Regions from separate parts of the Homo sapiens genome. Here region 2 is linked to region 1. Evidence: promoter capture Hi-C in 16 types of primary human blood cells and fetal thymus (Javierre and others, 2016). All regions are on one chromosome and are shown on one strand. Each heading gives the region's core, a stretch centred on a gene start or on the middle of the fragment in contact. The rest is flanking DNA. Distances are from core to core; before and after follow the strand shown. Region 1 holds the start of CDKN2AIP (CDKN2A interacting protein). Region 2 overlaps TRAPPC11 (trafficking protein particle complex subunit 11).

Region 1 (7,595 bases), core at 1,895-4,394:
AAACATGGTAGACAACTTAATACATTTTCACCAAATTGAAAGTAGTACAAAAATTTTAGGACTCTACCGAACTACACATCGTACCTAATGTATCATTAAAAATAGAAGACAGTATTTTCTTCAGCAAATAAAACAGCATACTAATATGCTGCTAATGCATACCTTTTAATGTGTACTGTCATTCATAAATTATTTACAACTGCTACTGTGTGAAGAGAACTAGAATGTAAATTTTCTGCAAAACTGGAAAAAAAGCAATACAAAATTTGTGAAAGCCTGTGTTTTATACTATACAAAAGTCAGTTTTTCTCTTCAAATACCAGATATTGTATGCAGTGATATTTTGGACACATTATAGTAATTCTTGAGGATGTTTTAGTGCTGGAGGTAAGTTTACAGGCCTCGATTCTTCATCAAGGAGTACTAGATCTTCTATTTCACTGCCTCTGTATTTCCTTTTACATATTTTTACCACCACCTTTTTCTTGAGAAATAACTTCAATGCTTCTCTTGATGCAACTGCTTTTGCATTTTCTTTGCTTTTTCCACAGCCAGTGCCCAAATACACAGACTTGCACCTCAATTCACAAACAATACTTTCTTGAGAGCTCTTATTTTGAGGCAGATCTGCCAATTCTTTTAGTGGGACAAAAAATACATCCAGTGTTGCTTTCAGAGCCTCAATAGCTGCATTTAGGAGCTCTCCATGATTCACATTGGGACTAAAGCCACCAACAGCTACCAACTTCCATGCCACCGTTTTATATAGTCTATTGAAAAAAGGTTGCTTCTGTTTCACATCTTCATTGGTTAACTTGCAAGAGAATTTGACAGAACTCTCACTTGACTGTGAAGTACTTTTAGAAGGCAACTGTGAGGTGCTAGTCTGAGAACTACTCTTAGAAGCCAACTGGGACACACTTGCTAAGGAAGTGCTTTTGGAAACCAGAGATCCACTGGTCTGGGAGCTGCTCTTGGAAGCTAGTAGTGATGCAGCTACCTGGGAAGTGCTCTTGGAAGTTAGCAGCGATGTATTTGTTGAAGAGCTGCTCTTGGGAGTCAGTAAGGATGTGCCTGATGAGGAACTGTTTTTAGCAACTGATGATGAAACACTTGCCTCTGAACTAGTTTTGGAAGTTAACCCACTTGAAGCTGTCTCTGAACTAGGTTTGGAAGACAATAGTGGCAATTCTACCTCTGAGCTTCCTGAGGAGCCCAACAAGGGCACCTCGATCTCTGAGCTGCTTTGAGAAGCTGAGGCTGAAGAGCCTTCCAAAGCACTCTTTTTAGGTGATCCACTTTGTTGTCTAGAATCAGTGGATTGGGTCATGTGACTATTCACACTGGATTTCAGCAAGGAAACAAATGATGCAGAACCGTGTTTATCTGGAGCTTCTGCTTCAGAAGCTTTCCCAGATCCTGCCGTTGTTACCTGAGAGGAAACGCTGCTGCTGCTTTGGCTGGAAACAGATCGATCTCCATCACTTGTAGAGCTATTCTGACTGGAGATGCCAGAGCTCCGAGCTGAGTTCCCACTCTCTGATTTGATGGCCGACCCTATACACGTTGAACTGTTTTCCTGCTGAGCTGATGCACGTTCTGTCTTGGCAGAGGTTTTTGCGTGATCTTGCTCAACTGCAGAACTGTTTTTTCCTTCTATAACTCGTTTTTTGGATGGCTCTTCTACCCCTTCTAAAAAGAAGAAAAACATAGATATGTGACTAAGAATACCTCGTACAAAACGGGTGATGAGACAAATACACATTAAAATAAAGGCACAAAGTGAAAACATTTCAAGACTAATCGTTTCTTTAAAAAGTGTGGAGTCATTAATTTCTTAAAACAGTGTTGAATAACATCATGAATGTCTAATATTAAAAAAATAACAGCATCAGACAACAGTGGACACTTCAAAATCTAAAGCAGTCAAAGCAAACTATCAAATTCAAAGCCTAAAGACACAGATATATACTTTAGGTTTAACATTCCAACTTTATTACTTATTAATAACATAAAAATTCTGGCTTGTTAAAAAAATTAGTAACAATAATTCCTAATTATATCAAACTTATGCTCTAAACTCCTATGTATGTTCACATCTATGATCTGCTAACCATTGCTACTCGATATCCCTCTTTTCTTCACCTTGGCAACCAGTTCATCTCTTGTTGTATAGGTTGGAGCATCTGTCACTTTGATGCCTTCAGCCATACTAAGTATTTTATCCATAACTTTTTGAGGGTATCTGAAAAAGAAGGAAAAGTCATTTTTAAAAAGTGTTTTTTCTAAGGTCCTACTTGTGCAAAAAACAGGCCACAGGGACTGCATTTCCTGGCTGCAATCAAGAAAGTGAACCAACCGCCAAGAACTGTTTCCTGGAACCCCATAAACAAGTGCCCCAGGGTCTGGGAGGCAGGGCACCTCCTCACTAATCTTAAATCTCGCACCCGTCCCCAAGAGCGTTGTTCCCTAACACAAGCAACCCTACCAGCAGCTGCGCCCACACCACCGGGCACACAGACGTCCGGGAATCATGTCGGCTCCTCGCAGGGACGCCCTTCTCCCCCTTAGAGGGCAGCCGGGCCGGCGGATTCCCGCGCTTCACAACTTCCCCTCCCCGCCGAGGCCGGTCCCGCGGAGGGCGCCGGGCCCCGGTCTGCAGGTGGCACACAAAACGAGGCGTGCTGGTTAGGGACGCTGCCTCACTCACCGGCACCCGAGGAAGACGTGGTTCGCCCAGGCCATGGAAAAGGAGATGAGCTGCTGCAGCTGCCGGTTTCGGGTCCCGCTCTCGGCGTCGGCAGCTTCATCCGTGCTAGCGGAGGCAGCGCCGCCAGCGGGGGCCAGGTCCCCGGCGTTGCGAAGCAAAAAATCCCGGCGGTGGCGCCAGTGTTTGTCAGTCTCGCCGTCGCAGCGCAGCGCCTCCACCCAGGCTGCCACCCGCGGGTTCTGGCTCAGGTACTCCGACACCTCCTGCGCCATGTTGGGCCTGCAGGCCGCGAACACAGCTGCACCGGGAGACAGGCAGGACTAGCGGGGCGAGCGGCCCTGTCACTGCGGCCTGCACCCGCGGCCCTCCAGATAACGCCCCTCCGCAGGCCTAAAGACCAAACAACAGCGCCCAGAGCCGCCGAACCGCCCACTTCCGCCCACCGCCGGCTTCTTCCCTTTTATAACCTCGCCGCCGCCGCGCGCCCTCGCGTTCTTCCGGCGCGAGCCGGCGCTCCCAAGACGCTTTGCGGCGCCGGGGCCGCTGCGACGCTGCGTCCCCGTGAGGCCACGGAGGGCACCCCGGGGGTGAGGTGGGCGGGCGTCGGGCGTCTCCCGCCCCACGAGGGCGGACTGCAAGTCGAGCTGGCCTGGGACGACCGAGTCTCGGCGGAACCCCGGGCGTTCTGTCCTCGCTTTGTGACGCCGCGCGCTCCTGCCGTCCTCCTCCCCCGCCGGGTCAGCTGCGGCGCCGGGAGCAGAGGCGAGAGGGGCAGGGCCCGGGCAAGGGAGGCAGCCGGGCGCGGCGGCCAAAGTCCGCTAGGGGGGCGTCCCGGGGGACCTTGAGCCGCCCGCAGCCGCGGGGCCTGTGGTCTCCGCCCTGAGACGCCTGTGTGTGAGCGGGGCCAAAACAAACAAAAGCCGGCCTCCATGTTAGAGTGTTGGGAGCTGCGTCTCGCGCTGCTTTCAGTGTGCCCGAGCGAAGCGTTCCGAGGCCGTCGGGGTCTCCGCGCCTTCAGGAGGGCGGGAGTGCCAGTCCCCTTACATAGCAGCAGTAGACAGTAAGGTCACACGAGGACCTGGCTCCGTGTTGCCGTGAGGCTTGCAGCCTTCGAAGCTGGCCCTGGCCCCGCAGCGGTAGGGCTTGTTCCCGCAGTTTATTAGGTCTCTAGTTAATCCAGGCATTGCCTTCCTGTTCTGGTCAGTAGGAAAACAACACCCCGACAACGCTCTGTCTCTAGAATTTCCTAAAATCAACAGCTTTACCACCAACCGGCAGATGTCCGGAGGTGGAGTGGAAATGTACCTATTTATCTATAGGGCCCCAAACCTCTCTCCCTGTTAGAGCTGTTTTTTCCTTCTATATATTTTTTTCCACTTTACATTTCCCACAGTTACGTACTCTAACTGCTGGCTGGCTTATTGTTACGTTTCCCATTCCAGGTATACATGCACTGTAAGATAAATACGTTAAATGATATAAATTATGAAATTTTTCTTTCAATAAATGTAGACTTTGATGTAAAAATGCATGAATCAGAATAAGCAAGCAAAAAAAGGTCACTTTAGGTAAGATCAGATAAGGTTAACTGTGTAATTTATGTGCATGCTGGAACAAAATACAGCTATTGTATGAAAACAATATTGCCCATTTTCCTGCCATACCAAAAGAAACTACATAAAAACGGAGGCACAAAGAAATTTTGAAGCTTTGTGATTTTGCTTCTAGTTTGCTGTTCTTTCCTCCTTTTCACAGATAATTGCTGAAAATCTAGAGGGGGTGGACGGATTGCAGAAATCTGGCTATTTAAAAGGTGGAGAAATTACGATTTCTCCTTTCATGAATTCTTTGGCAAGGGGACCATGGCAAGTAAAAGAAGCTATGATCGCATACCTAGATTATATATGTGCATTTTAAATCAAGAATGTTCTCACGGCCAGGTGCAGTGGCTCACGCCTGTAATCCCAGCACCTTGGGAGGCCGAGGCGGACGAATCATGAGGTCAGGAGTTCGAGACCAGCCTGGCCAATGTAGTGAAACCCCATCTCTACTAAAAATACAAAAGTTAGCCAAGTGTGGTGGCACGTGCCTGTAGTCCCAGCTACTCTGTAGGCCGAGGCGGGAGAATCGCTTGAACTCAGGAGGCAGAGGTTGCAGTGAGCCGAGACCAAGCCATTGCACTCCAGCCTGGGTGACAGAGTGAGACTTCATCTCAAAAAATAATAATAATAATGTTCTCACTTTTTTTCTTGTTGCCCTGTAGTCTTCTTCCCACTCATGGGCTTCATTGCCTTGAAAGGAGAACAAGTAGAGCCTGAATTTCAAACAATTTTTTTAATTATAATAAAAGCGATAGAGTCTGAAAGATGGAGTACTTGTGCAAAAACCAGGTGCTTGGAATAAAAGATACATGCATTTTTCTTTTTTGATTCTTAAAAAGTTGACTTTGCATATAAAGATTCAAAGACTATGAACCACAAGTAGCTGGGACTGCAGGCGGGTACCACGACGACAGGCTAATTTTTTATTTTTTTGTAGAAACAAGGTTTCACTGTTGTCCAGGCTGGTTTTGAACTCCTAATATCAAGCAATTCTTCTGCCTCGGCCTCTCAAAGTGCTGGGATTATAGGCATGAGTCGCTGTGCCCGGCCTCATTTTTTTTTAAAGACCCTCCCACCTACAGAGACAAATTCCTCTCTAAGCTGGGGGAGACGTTCTGAGAGAAAAGGTGAGAGGAGAATTTAGGTGATAACTAGGAAAGTCTATGGGAGTAGGGAATAAGATGCAGGGTGGGAAGTGTTGGCTGTTAGAAATTGCTAGGTAGATTTTGGGTCTAAGAGCAGAAGGACTTGGCTCTGCCCGAGTTTCTGAGAGAAGACAGCCCAATCGTGCCCTGAGCCTGTATGCGTTGGCCTTTAGAAATGAACATAGAAAGGGCCTTTTATAGCTTTGATAACCAACTATACAACTCCCTCCTCTGCTCCTAACACACGTGTGTATATATATATACATATGTGTGTGTGTATATATACATAACACACACACACGCATTTACGCACATATATCTCACAGGGCCTAGAGGAGATCCAAAAGGTTCCCAAGAAAGAGTTGAATGGTGAAGTGCCTACCAAGCACCAGGGTCCAAGGTGAATGAGGCTAGGGGTGGTCAGCTTGTCAGCAAAGGGAGATGCAGCTAGTTTTCAGCAAGTCATCAGACCAGTGCCCGTCAGGCCGCATCAATAGGAGAGGACCCTCAACCTCTCCTGAAATGATCAGTGTGCATTGCTTGTGCTGGTAGATCAAGCAGTTATACTCCCAGCAGAGCCCACAGGGAAGAAAGCACAAGACAATGCTAGGATGATAACCAAGCCTCACCCCACCACTGCCCTCACTAGAAATCTACTCAGAGGAGAAAAGGGAGAGAATTCTAATGAATTGAGAAAGATCCACTATCATCCCAAATTGAGTTTCAAACAAGTGACTGAGTTCACAGGATTAAATTTTCTGCTGTAAGTGGAAGCCCATTCACTGAAACTGGTTCTGTAGCATATCTCTCTGAAGACATCCAATAAAAATTCCAGCGGCAAGCTGGCTTTTCTGCAGATGGCTTTCCCATGGAGCAACATGAAGGGATTGCCCCTGTTCCTGGATGTGACTGTGGAAGCAAGAAAGCCTTTGGCAGGAAGGTCTGCATGTGGAGAGGCTTGTGAGGAGCAAATACTCCAGTTATGGCCAAGGTTATGACTTGATGTGAGAAATACTTCATGGTGAGGGGAAATATTTTATGCTAATGATGTGTGAGGACACAAATCTGCCAAATTACAGTGATAAGGTGGGATGTTCTGAAAAAGTAAGAGAATGTTTTAAGAGTGATCCCCTCTGTTAGAAGCTTTGAGAAATCAAGTAGGATGAAGATAGGTAGTAACAGTCTGATTACGGACTGGAGCCACCTGTGAGCTTGGCAAAAGCCGTTTTTACTGCAGTGATGAAGACTCCATATCAGAGTGAGTTCAGGAGTCGGAAATGGAGATATTTGGCTGTAAAGGGGAGAAGATAGAGGAAGCTGGACAGGGTCATGGGGTCAAGGTGGCTTCAATTTCAGATGGGAGTAGCCTGAGCATGTTGCCCACTGCTTGAAGGCAACTCACAGAAAAGGAGAGTTTGAGGATCTGAAGAAAAAGAGGGTAATTAGCAATTTCTGCAGACATAGGTGTGGCTGGGATCCACACACAGGTGGAGAGATTAACCTTAGGTGGGCAGACACTTCCTCTGTTTTAAAAGAAGACGTTTGTAAGTTTGGAGCTGAGACGTTGACATGGAGGCCATCTGATGGTGCAGAGAATGCTCGCAATGGATATTTTAGAGGGCAGAAGAGCAGGCTGCCTAGATGAACATAGTCTTTTTGGCCAATTTAAAATTACAGGCTGGGCGTGGTGGCTCACACCTGTAATCCTAACACTTTGGGAGGCCAAGGTGGGCAGATTACTTGAGCCCAGGGGTTCAAGGCCAGCCTAGTCTACATGGCAAGACCCTGTCTCTACAAAAAATACAAAACATAGTTGGGTGTGTTGGTACATACCTCTAGTTCCAGCTACTCAAGAGGCTAAGGTGGGAGGATCACTTGAGCCCACGAGGTCGAGGTTGCAGTGAGTTGTGATCGCACCGCTGCACTCCAGCCTGGGCGATAAAGGGAGACTGTCTCAAAAATTAAAATAAAATAAAAATATAATGTGTGCACACAAAAATGAAACATCTAAGTAGAAAAAAAGAGGCATAAATGAAAGCAAACAATCTCCCTCACTCAACCTGGTCCCACTCTGTGGACATCAGCATTCATGTCATTTCTATCTTGATTTCTTTGGGTGATTATTTTCATAACTCCAAA
Region 2 (7,595 bases), core at 2,267-4,766, 230 kb before region 1:
ATGTATTTGGGGCAAAAGGAAAAAAGGAAGAAACAAAGCCTAAATTTATTTCCATATGCTTGTTACAATTTTCACTTTTATTTTTTAAGTACAAAGGAACACATGAAAAGTCAGTCTCTCATCCATTCCTGTCTCTCAGCCATCTAATTTCCCTTTCTAGAGGCAATCAGTTTCTGCCATATGCTTCCTGATATATTCTACACACAGATAAGTATGTGTATGCCTTTCTAGAAAACTATTGTTTTTATACAAATAACAACATCACACTAAATATGCTAATCTGTGACTTTATTCATCTTGCAATATATTTTGGGTATTATTCCATATCACTACATAGAGCGGCCTCATTCTCAACAGCTTTTAATATTTCTTTGTTTACAGTTATAATTTATATAACCAATCACTTACAACTGGGTTGTTTCTAATCTTTTCCTATTAGAAAAAAACAGCGAATTAAAGTATCTATTTGGCCATACATCACCAACACAGAGTCAGGCATCTTTAAGATGAATGTGAAAAAACTAAAAGCAAACCAAACAGCCGTTGCTTGACTTCTGAGGGCACCTATTCCTGTGATAGACAATCTCAAAATAAAATGCTCAAACAGTAGGTATAAAAGTTTCCTCTGGCTGGGCGTGGTGGCTCACACCCGTAATTCCAGCACTTTGGGAGGCCGAGACAGGTGGATCACGAGGTCAAGAGATCGAAACCATCCTGGCCAACATGGTGAAGCCATGTCTCTACTAAAAACACAAAAATTAGCTGGGTGTGGTGGCGCATGCCTGTACTCCCAGCTACTCAGAAGGCTGAGGCAGAAGAATTGCTTGAACCCAGGAGGCAGAGGTTCCAGTGAGCCGAGATCCCACCACTGCACTCCAGCCTGGCAACAGAGCAAAACTCCGTCTCAAAAAAAAAAAAAAAAAGTTTCCTCTAAGGTGAATAGACACTTCTTTTCTGTGCCATTAAACCAAGAAGAAGTCACATAGTTCTAATAATTTTATCCTTTAAAACTCAGTAATACAGGCAGCTTTCTTCTCAACTCCTCCTTGCTCCCACTGAAAAACAAAACAAAAACCAAAAAACCCTCCAAACTTTTAAAACCTCTAGAACTTATCAATTCAAAATACAACTACTATAAATAGCCTGCTAAGAATCGATGCCCTTCTGAGAAAAAGGATATAAAAGGGGAGATCATAATTAATCAAATACTAACTTTTCAGAGCAAGAAATTAATTTTGATGTTCAAATTTTAAAAAGATAATTTAATATTGAAACACAAATTCCCTGTATTTGGAAGCAGAATTATTACCTTGTAGTTTATAAATCCTGCCATAGTCTTAATTTCCAGAATATTAGTTTCATGGGCTCTCAATTCGTGTACAAGATTATAGGCGGTCCTATAATTCCTAAATGAGGAGGGTGGTTAATGATATAAATTAGTTTAATAAACGATTTCTAAGAACCAAATCACTAGAAATAACAAAGAATATTTACTCAACATTTTAGTGCTCAACAGCTCAATAATGTCAATCTCTGATTTCCTGATAAATGAGCCATTAGTTATTAAATATATGAGAGGAATCAATGATTTCATAAAGAACAGAACCATGACATGTGCGTTGTTCTTCCTGTCATTAACATCTGTCAGTAACAAACAGATAACTTAAAAAAGGAAATTGGACAACTGTCCAGAAAAATCAGCATTCTGTTAAAAAACATAAGTATTTTAAAGTACCATTACAAGCTCTCAAACAAATAGAAATTTTATTAGCAAAGGTGGTATCAAGACAGCACAGGTCAGCCAGGCACGGTGGCTCACACCTGTAATCCCAGCACTTTGAGAGGCTGAGGTGGGCGGATCACTTGAGGTCAGGAGTTTCAGATCAGCCTGGCCAACAGGGTGAAACCCCGTCTCTACTAAAAATACAAAAGTTAGCCGGGTGTGGTAGCACAAGCCTGTAATCCCAGCTACTCAGGAAGTTGAGGCAGGAGAATCCCTTGAACCCAGGAGGCAGAGACTGCAGTGAGCTGAGATCGTGCCACCACAGTCCAGCCCAGGTAACAGAGGGAGATGCCATCTCAAAAAAACAGCAGCACAGGTCAACAGCTTTTTAACCCCAAGTACCTCTACAGGTTAAGTGAATATTACTGGCCTCAGGTAAAGTCTACAGAGCAGGGAAAGATGTCCTTCGGGCAGCTCACGCTGAAGGAGAAGCATGGTGAGAAAGGAGGGCCTGCTGGGAACAGGGCCTACCTTGCACATGGAAGGAAATGAGGAAATCTCAAAACAGGCTTTTCATAGAAAAAGTTTGTTCATAACTTTTCCAGGTAAATGTATTTCTTTCCAGAATTATTTTTGAACAGAACTGAAATTGAAGGATTTAAACTAATACCATCGATAAAAATGAACTACAGGCCAGGCGCAGTGGCTCACACCTGTAATCCCAGCATTTTGGGAGGCCAAGGTGGGTGGATCACCTGAGGTCAGGAGTTCGAGACCAGCATGGCCAACATGGTGAAACCCTGTCTCTACTAAAAATATAAAAATTAGCTGGGCGTGGTGGCAGGCACCTGTAGTCCCAGCTACTCGGGAGGCTGAGACAGGAGAATCACTTGAATCCAGTAGGCAGAGGTTGCAGTGAGCCGAGATCGCGCCACTGCACTCCAGCCTGGGCAACAAGAGCAAAACTCTGTCTCAAAAAAAAAAAATGAACTACATTAAAGCCAGTTATATGAAGTTGTTGAGATTCAGGAAACACAACTTGGTGCTTTGGTACTTAAACATCTCAAAACAACAACAAAAATAAGATGTTTCTGCAATATTCCTGTGAATAATAAAATTATTTTTATTTATTTCTATTTTTCTTTGCCCTCCTCAATTTTGGGATAAATAGCTGTTTTTAATACCTTTGTCTTCAAAAAGTGAGTTAAAGCTACAAAGAGGTCAAGTTTCATTGAATTCTGCTTCGTAAAAGCAAAGGACTAAAATATTTAACCACTGCCAACACATCTGCAACTAATCTTCAAGGCTCTAAGCAGAGACTTCAAATGGAAAATGATGCAACTGACTGATAACATTAAAATTTAATTTAAAAAATTGAATTTAATAAATGTACTAGTGTATAAACCTATAAAAATCAATAGTCTGGTGCTCACTTCAGCAGCATATATGCTAAAATTGGAGCAACACGGAGAAGATTAGCGTGGCTCCTGCGCAAGGATGACATGCAAATTTGTGAAGAGGCACATTTAAAAATTTATTTTGGAAAAACAAAGTCCGATTTAGATAATGTTTAAATCAGCCTCTTACAAGAATTTTACAGAGTATACACAAAATAAAGTCAAGAAGATGGGGAAAATTTTAATATTACATTTCTGTGGCTCATAAAATTTAATTAATCAAACCAGAAAGCTTTATGACACAATGAAATTTACTTCCAATAATAAAATGAAAATTTTTAAAAATCCTAAAATATTATACTCCATTCATCTCTACACTAATTCCTAAATCTAAGCAATATGAACACTTTAAACTTAATTATACTTTGGCTGAGATTCAGAAATTTCCATCACATGTTATTGTTAATATAAAAATAGGAAACATTTAGTTTGAAAGCTTAACTTACTTCAGCGCATTTTGTGTATCTTGTTTCAACTCACTGAAGAAAGCTATTTTGAACTGATGCCTAACAAATAAAAGCTAAAAAGAGACAAAAAAATTACTATTATACATATTCTATTTAAAATGTGAAAATTATAATGTTTATTATGAGGAGACATAAAAGAATGAAGAAAAATATTCAAAACTGAAATACAAGAATTATTCCCACAAATAAAGGCACAATTAAGAAGGCTATAAAAATCTACCTTTAAGAACTTTAAAAGCAAAGAGTTTAATTTAAAAACAAATTAATTTTTAAAAGCATTGAAAAAAACTTTAGAAATGCTGAAACCATTTAAAACATTAAAGTATTAAGAACATGTAATAATCACCTCAAAAATAATAATAATCCGCTCCAGAATGCTTCTATTATTGCAAAAAATCACGCACCTGGTGTGTTGTTTTATTCAAAAATTCTTTATGAGATTTCACTCTTCTGATCTCAGTGTAGTAATAAGTCTGTGCATGTTCATAAAAGGCATTTTCCAATCTGTAAAAAACAAAAACAAACAAGCATTTACATATTGAATTATTTTAAACCAAACTTTTCAAGAATATTTGTGAGACCTGAAAGTAAAATGGTGACAGAAATATCTGTTTTACATTATGAATAAGACAAAGTGAAGCAAAAGATAACCTGAATTTTCAGATCAAAAAGTCTAAAAACAAGACCATCCAAAAGCCATTTAAAATTATTTATAATACAGGATACAACAAATAAAAATACCTTTCTCTGATTCATAAAAACTTGGTAATCTTTTTTTTTTTTTTTTTTTTTTTTTGAGACAGGGTCTGGCTCTGTCACTACCCAGGCTGGAGTGCAGTGACGCAATCTTGGTTCACTGCAACTTCCACTTCCCTGGTTCAAGCGATTCCTGTGTCTCAGCCTATCAGGTAGCTGGGACTATAGGCATGTGCCACCATGCCTAGCTAATTTTTATATTTTTAGTTTAGGTGAGGTTTTACCATGTTGGCCAGCAGGGCTGGTGTTGATCTCCTGACCTCAAGTGATCCGCCCACCTTGGCCTCCCAAAGTGCTGGGATTAGGATCACAGGTGTGAGCCACCGCTCCTGGCCTAAAATTTGATTGGAATCTCTAAAAGCACATTCGCCCCTACTATTTTATATTTTTATAAAAAGTCTGAAAAAAATTATTAATCAATTAGATTTCAGTTTTTTGGTGATTTTAGTATTTAGGATTTAAAAGAATAAGAAAACTAATGGGGAAAGAACCAAAAATGAGAACTGGCAAATAAGGTGAAAACATTTGTGTGATTTAAATCCTCCATCATTCTATAACTTACATAGGAACAAGAAAATCTGACCAGAGATGGATACACAACTCAAGCTTTCTTTGGTGAAAAGAAGTTATCAGGAGTTATCTGCCTAGGGCGTGAAAGAAAGCAGAACTCATAGCCAGATAAAAGACGAACTTAAATATCAGCTATTATATTTTATATTTGATTTTCTAGGTTAAGATATTTCATTTCATTTCATTTCATTATTTCATTTCATTTCATTTCATTTTTGAGACAGGGTCCCGCTCTGTTGCCCAGGCTGGAGTGCAGTGGTGCAATCAAGTCTCACCACAGCCTCAGCCTCCTGGGCTCCAGTGATCTACCCACCTCAGCCTCCAGAGTGGCTGGAACTACATGCATACATGACCACGCCCAGCTAATTTTTATATTTTTTGTAGAGACGGGGTTTCACCATGTTGCCCAGGCTGGTCTCAAATTCCTGGACTTAAACGATCCAAATGCCTCGATCTCCCAAAGTATTGGGATTACAGGCATAAACCCTCATGTCCGGCCTTTTAAGATTTTTCTATTTTCAAAACTGTAGTTTTAAAAATGTTAAAATATGACAAAATTAGAATCTAACCTTGAACCAAATAATGTGTGAAGGAATGTATTAACCTAAGCTATCCTTTAAATTTTGCAAATGGGGGCCGGGCACAGTGCTCACGCTTGTAATCCCAGCACTTTGGGAGGCAGAGGCGGATCACGAGGTCAGGAGATCAAGACCAGCCTGGCTAACACGGTGAAACCCTGTCTCTAATAAAAATACAAAAAATTGGCCAGGTGTGGTGGTGGGCACCTGTAGTCCCAGCTACTCAGGAGGCTGAGGCAGGAGAATGGCATGAACCCAGGAGACGGAGCTTGCAATGAACGGAGATGACGCCACTGTACTCCAGCCTGGGCAACAGAGCGAGACTCCATCTCAAAAAAAAAAAAAAAAAAAATTTGCGAACGGGTAGCAACAAGGCACTGACTAGAATATCTAATGTTATGGTAGCCAGAAATATGTCTACAGACTATTCTGAATGATTCAAAAAACAAAAACAAAAAATCCTTCTCAATAGAGAATCAGTATTATTAATCTAGATTGTCTCAGTAAATATCAAAGATAAGTGTGGTTTTAGTTTTCAAGCTGAATGTGTACTTAGAGATAAAACACCTGTTAAACAGTCAATACAGAAGACTGAGAGTAAGTAGGCTTGGTAAGTGCTATTATTTCCTCTAAACTGAGGGATACAGAGTCAAATCTTTCCCTCGCTTTAACCGTAACAGGCTACAGAGACATCACGGGATAGAGCATAAGTGTTGTAAGGCTTCCACTTTTTAATTCATACACTTCTTTATTATTTGAGGCTTATTTGGAGAAAACCTTATAACCAGTTTCACAAACATAAATAAATAAACGACAAATCTAGTCAAGACATAAGGCTGTTAGTGAAAAGACCAATTCTCTTACCAGATACTCAAACATTACACTTTTAAGGCAACACCAAACATTAAGAATGCTCTTTTAAGGAAAGAGACCTTCAGTTTTTTTTGTTCTACAATAAAAAAAAATCCAACCGATTCAGTCTTCCCATTTAGTGATTTAAACTAGCTGAACTTCAGATGTCCATGCTTTTTTATGACATTCCTCTGTCCAAAATAACCACTACTTCCTCCCACTAATCCACACCTTCAAGCACAGTTGCAGGCCTTCCTCTTCCTTAAACCTTCCCAGGTCACATCTATTTATTTCTTCTCTGAAATCCTGTAAGACTTACAAACTATATTACAGAATTTACACTTGCAGTGCTCTGTGGAATTTAACATGGATGCTTTTGGTCTCCACAGTTAAATCAGCTTCTTTATGAAGGTAGGAACCTGATCAACTTGTTTTGAGCTAGACAAGATGCACACGTACATACACATATACAAATACGCACACAATTATCTGTATTTTATTGTTTGACCTGTCTCGAAATAGAATTTATCCTACCAGATAATTTAGGTTAAACTTTTAATTACGAGCTGCTCCTTATTCTAACTTTTTATTAGAACACATGTATATTTACTCTTAGCAATATTCATATAAAGATCACCTGGAGTCCATTTTCTGCCACCACTGCACTAGCATATCAAGCAAGCACATTTTTCAGAGCATACAAACATATATTTTAGCCACTGCAACTGAACTTTGAAAAACGAGCACCGATTCCAGGAAAGAGAGCTACCGGTTTTCAGGTGAAGGACATTCTAGCTTCTAAGTTATAGATGCAGATTTATGTCTAAAAGGGGTGTTCCCGAATTTTGTAAAGTACCTAAGAGGCAAAAATATTCACACAACTTTGGAGGACAAAAGGAGGACTACTGTATACTTAAAAGGAAGTTATATTGAAGGTAGATCCTGTGCTAAAGGCTGCAAATAAAAGGCACAAGAGCAGAAGCAGGAGCAGCAGTTGGGGCTGCGGGGGATGAGGGGTGGGGTCCTTACATCCTTTCTTCCTTTCTCCTCCAGCCTTTTCAGGAAAAGGGGACAGAAGGGAGAGTGAAACACTGCTTCAATACTGTCCCGCCCAGCCAAATGCTTACAGCAGTTCCAATTTTTAATTTATGGAAAGACGAAGATCAGAGACAAAAATCTAACTGCATGAATC

What was found. Contacts are between HindIII fragments. The CHiCAGO score rates a contact against its expected background, and 5 or more counts as called.
Region 2: a contact is called between a fragment that was not itself captured here and the fragment with the promoter of CDKN2AIP in region 1, in 4 of 17 cell types (megakaryocytes, naive CD4 T cells, total CD8 T cells and 1 more). The highest score is 5.7, in megakaryocytes.

The regions. Positions count from the first base shown.
Region 1 is chr4:183,440,185-183,447,779 of GRCh38, reverse strand. It overlaps CDKN2AIP (CDKN2A interacting protein), which reads right to left and starts at 3,144. Exons shown (of 3, transcript NM_017632.4): 1 at 2,711-3,144; 2 at 2,115-2,245; 3 at 1-1,692. The coding sequence starts at 2,982. The coding sequence ends at 353. RefSeq lists an enhancer at 2,690-2,839 and a silencer at 3,120-3,669. The HindIII fragment of the contact is 3,011 bases long and covers 1,410-4,420 here.
Region 2 is chr4:183,671,269-183,678,863 of GRCh38, reverse strand. TRAPPC11 (trafficking protein particle complex subunit 11) reads right to left here. Exons shown (of 30, transcript NM_021942.6): 6 at 4,052-4,151; 7 at 3,627-3,700; 8 at 1,310-1,406. It also overlaps the pseudogene RNU6-335P. Among named protein-coding and RNA genes, the nearest start is that of TRAPPC11, 16 kb to the right of the region's middle. The HindIII fragment of the contact is 204 bases long and covers 3,415-3,618 here.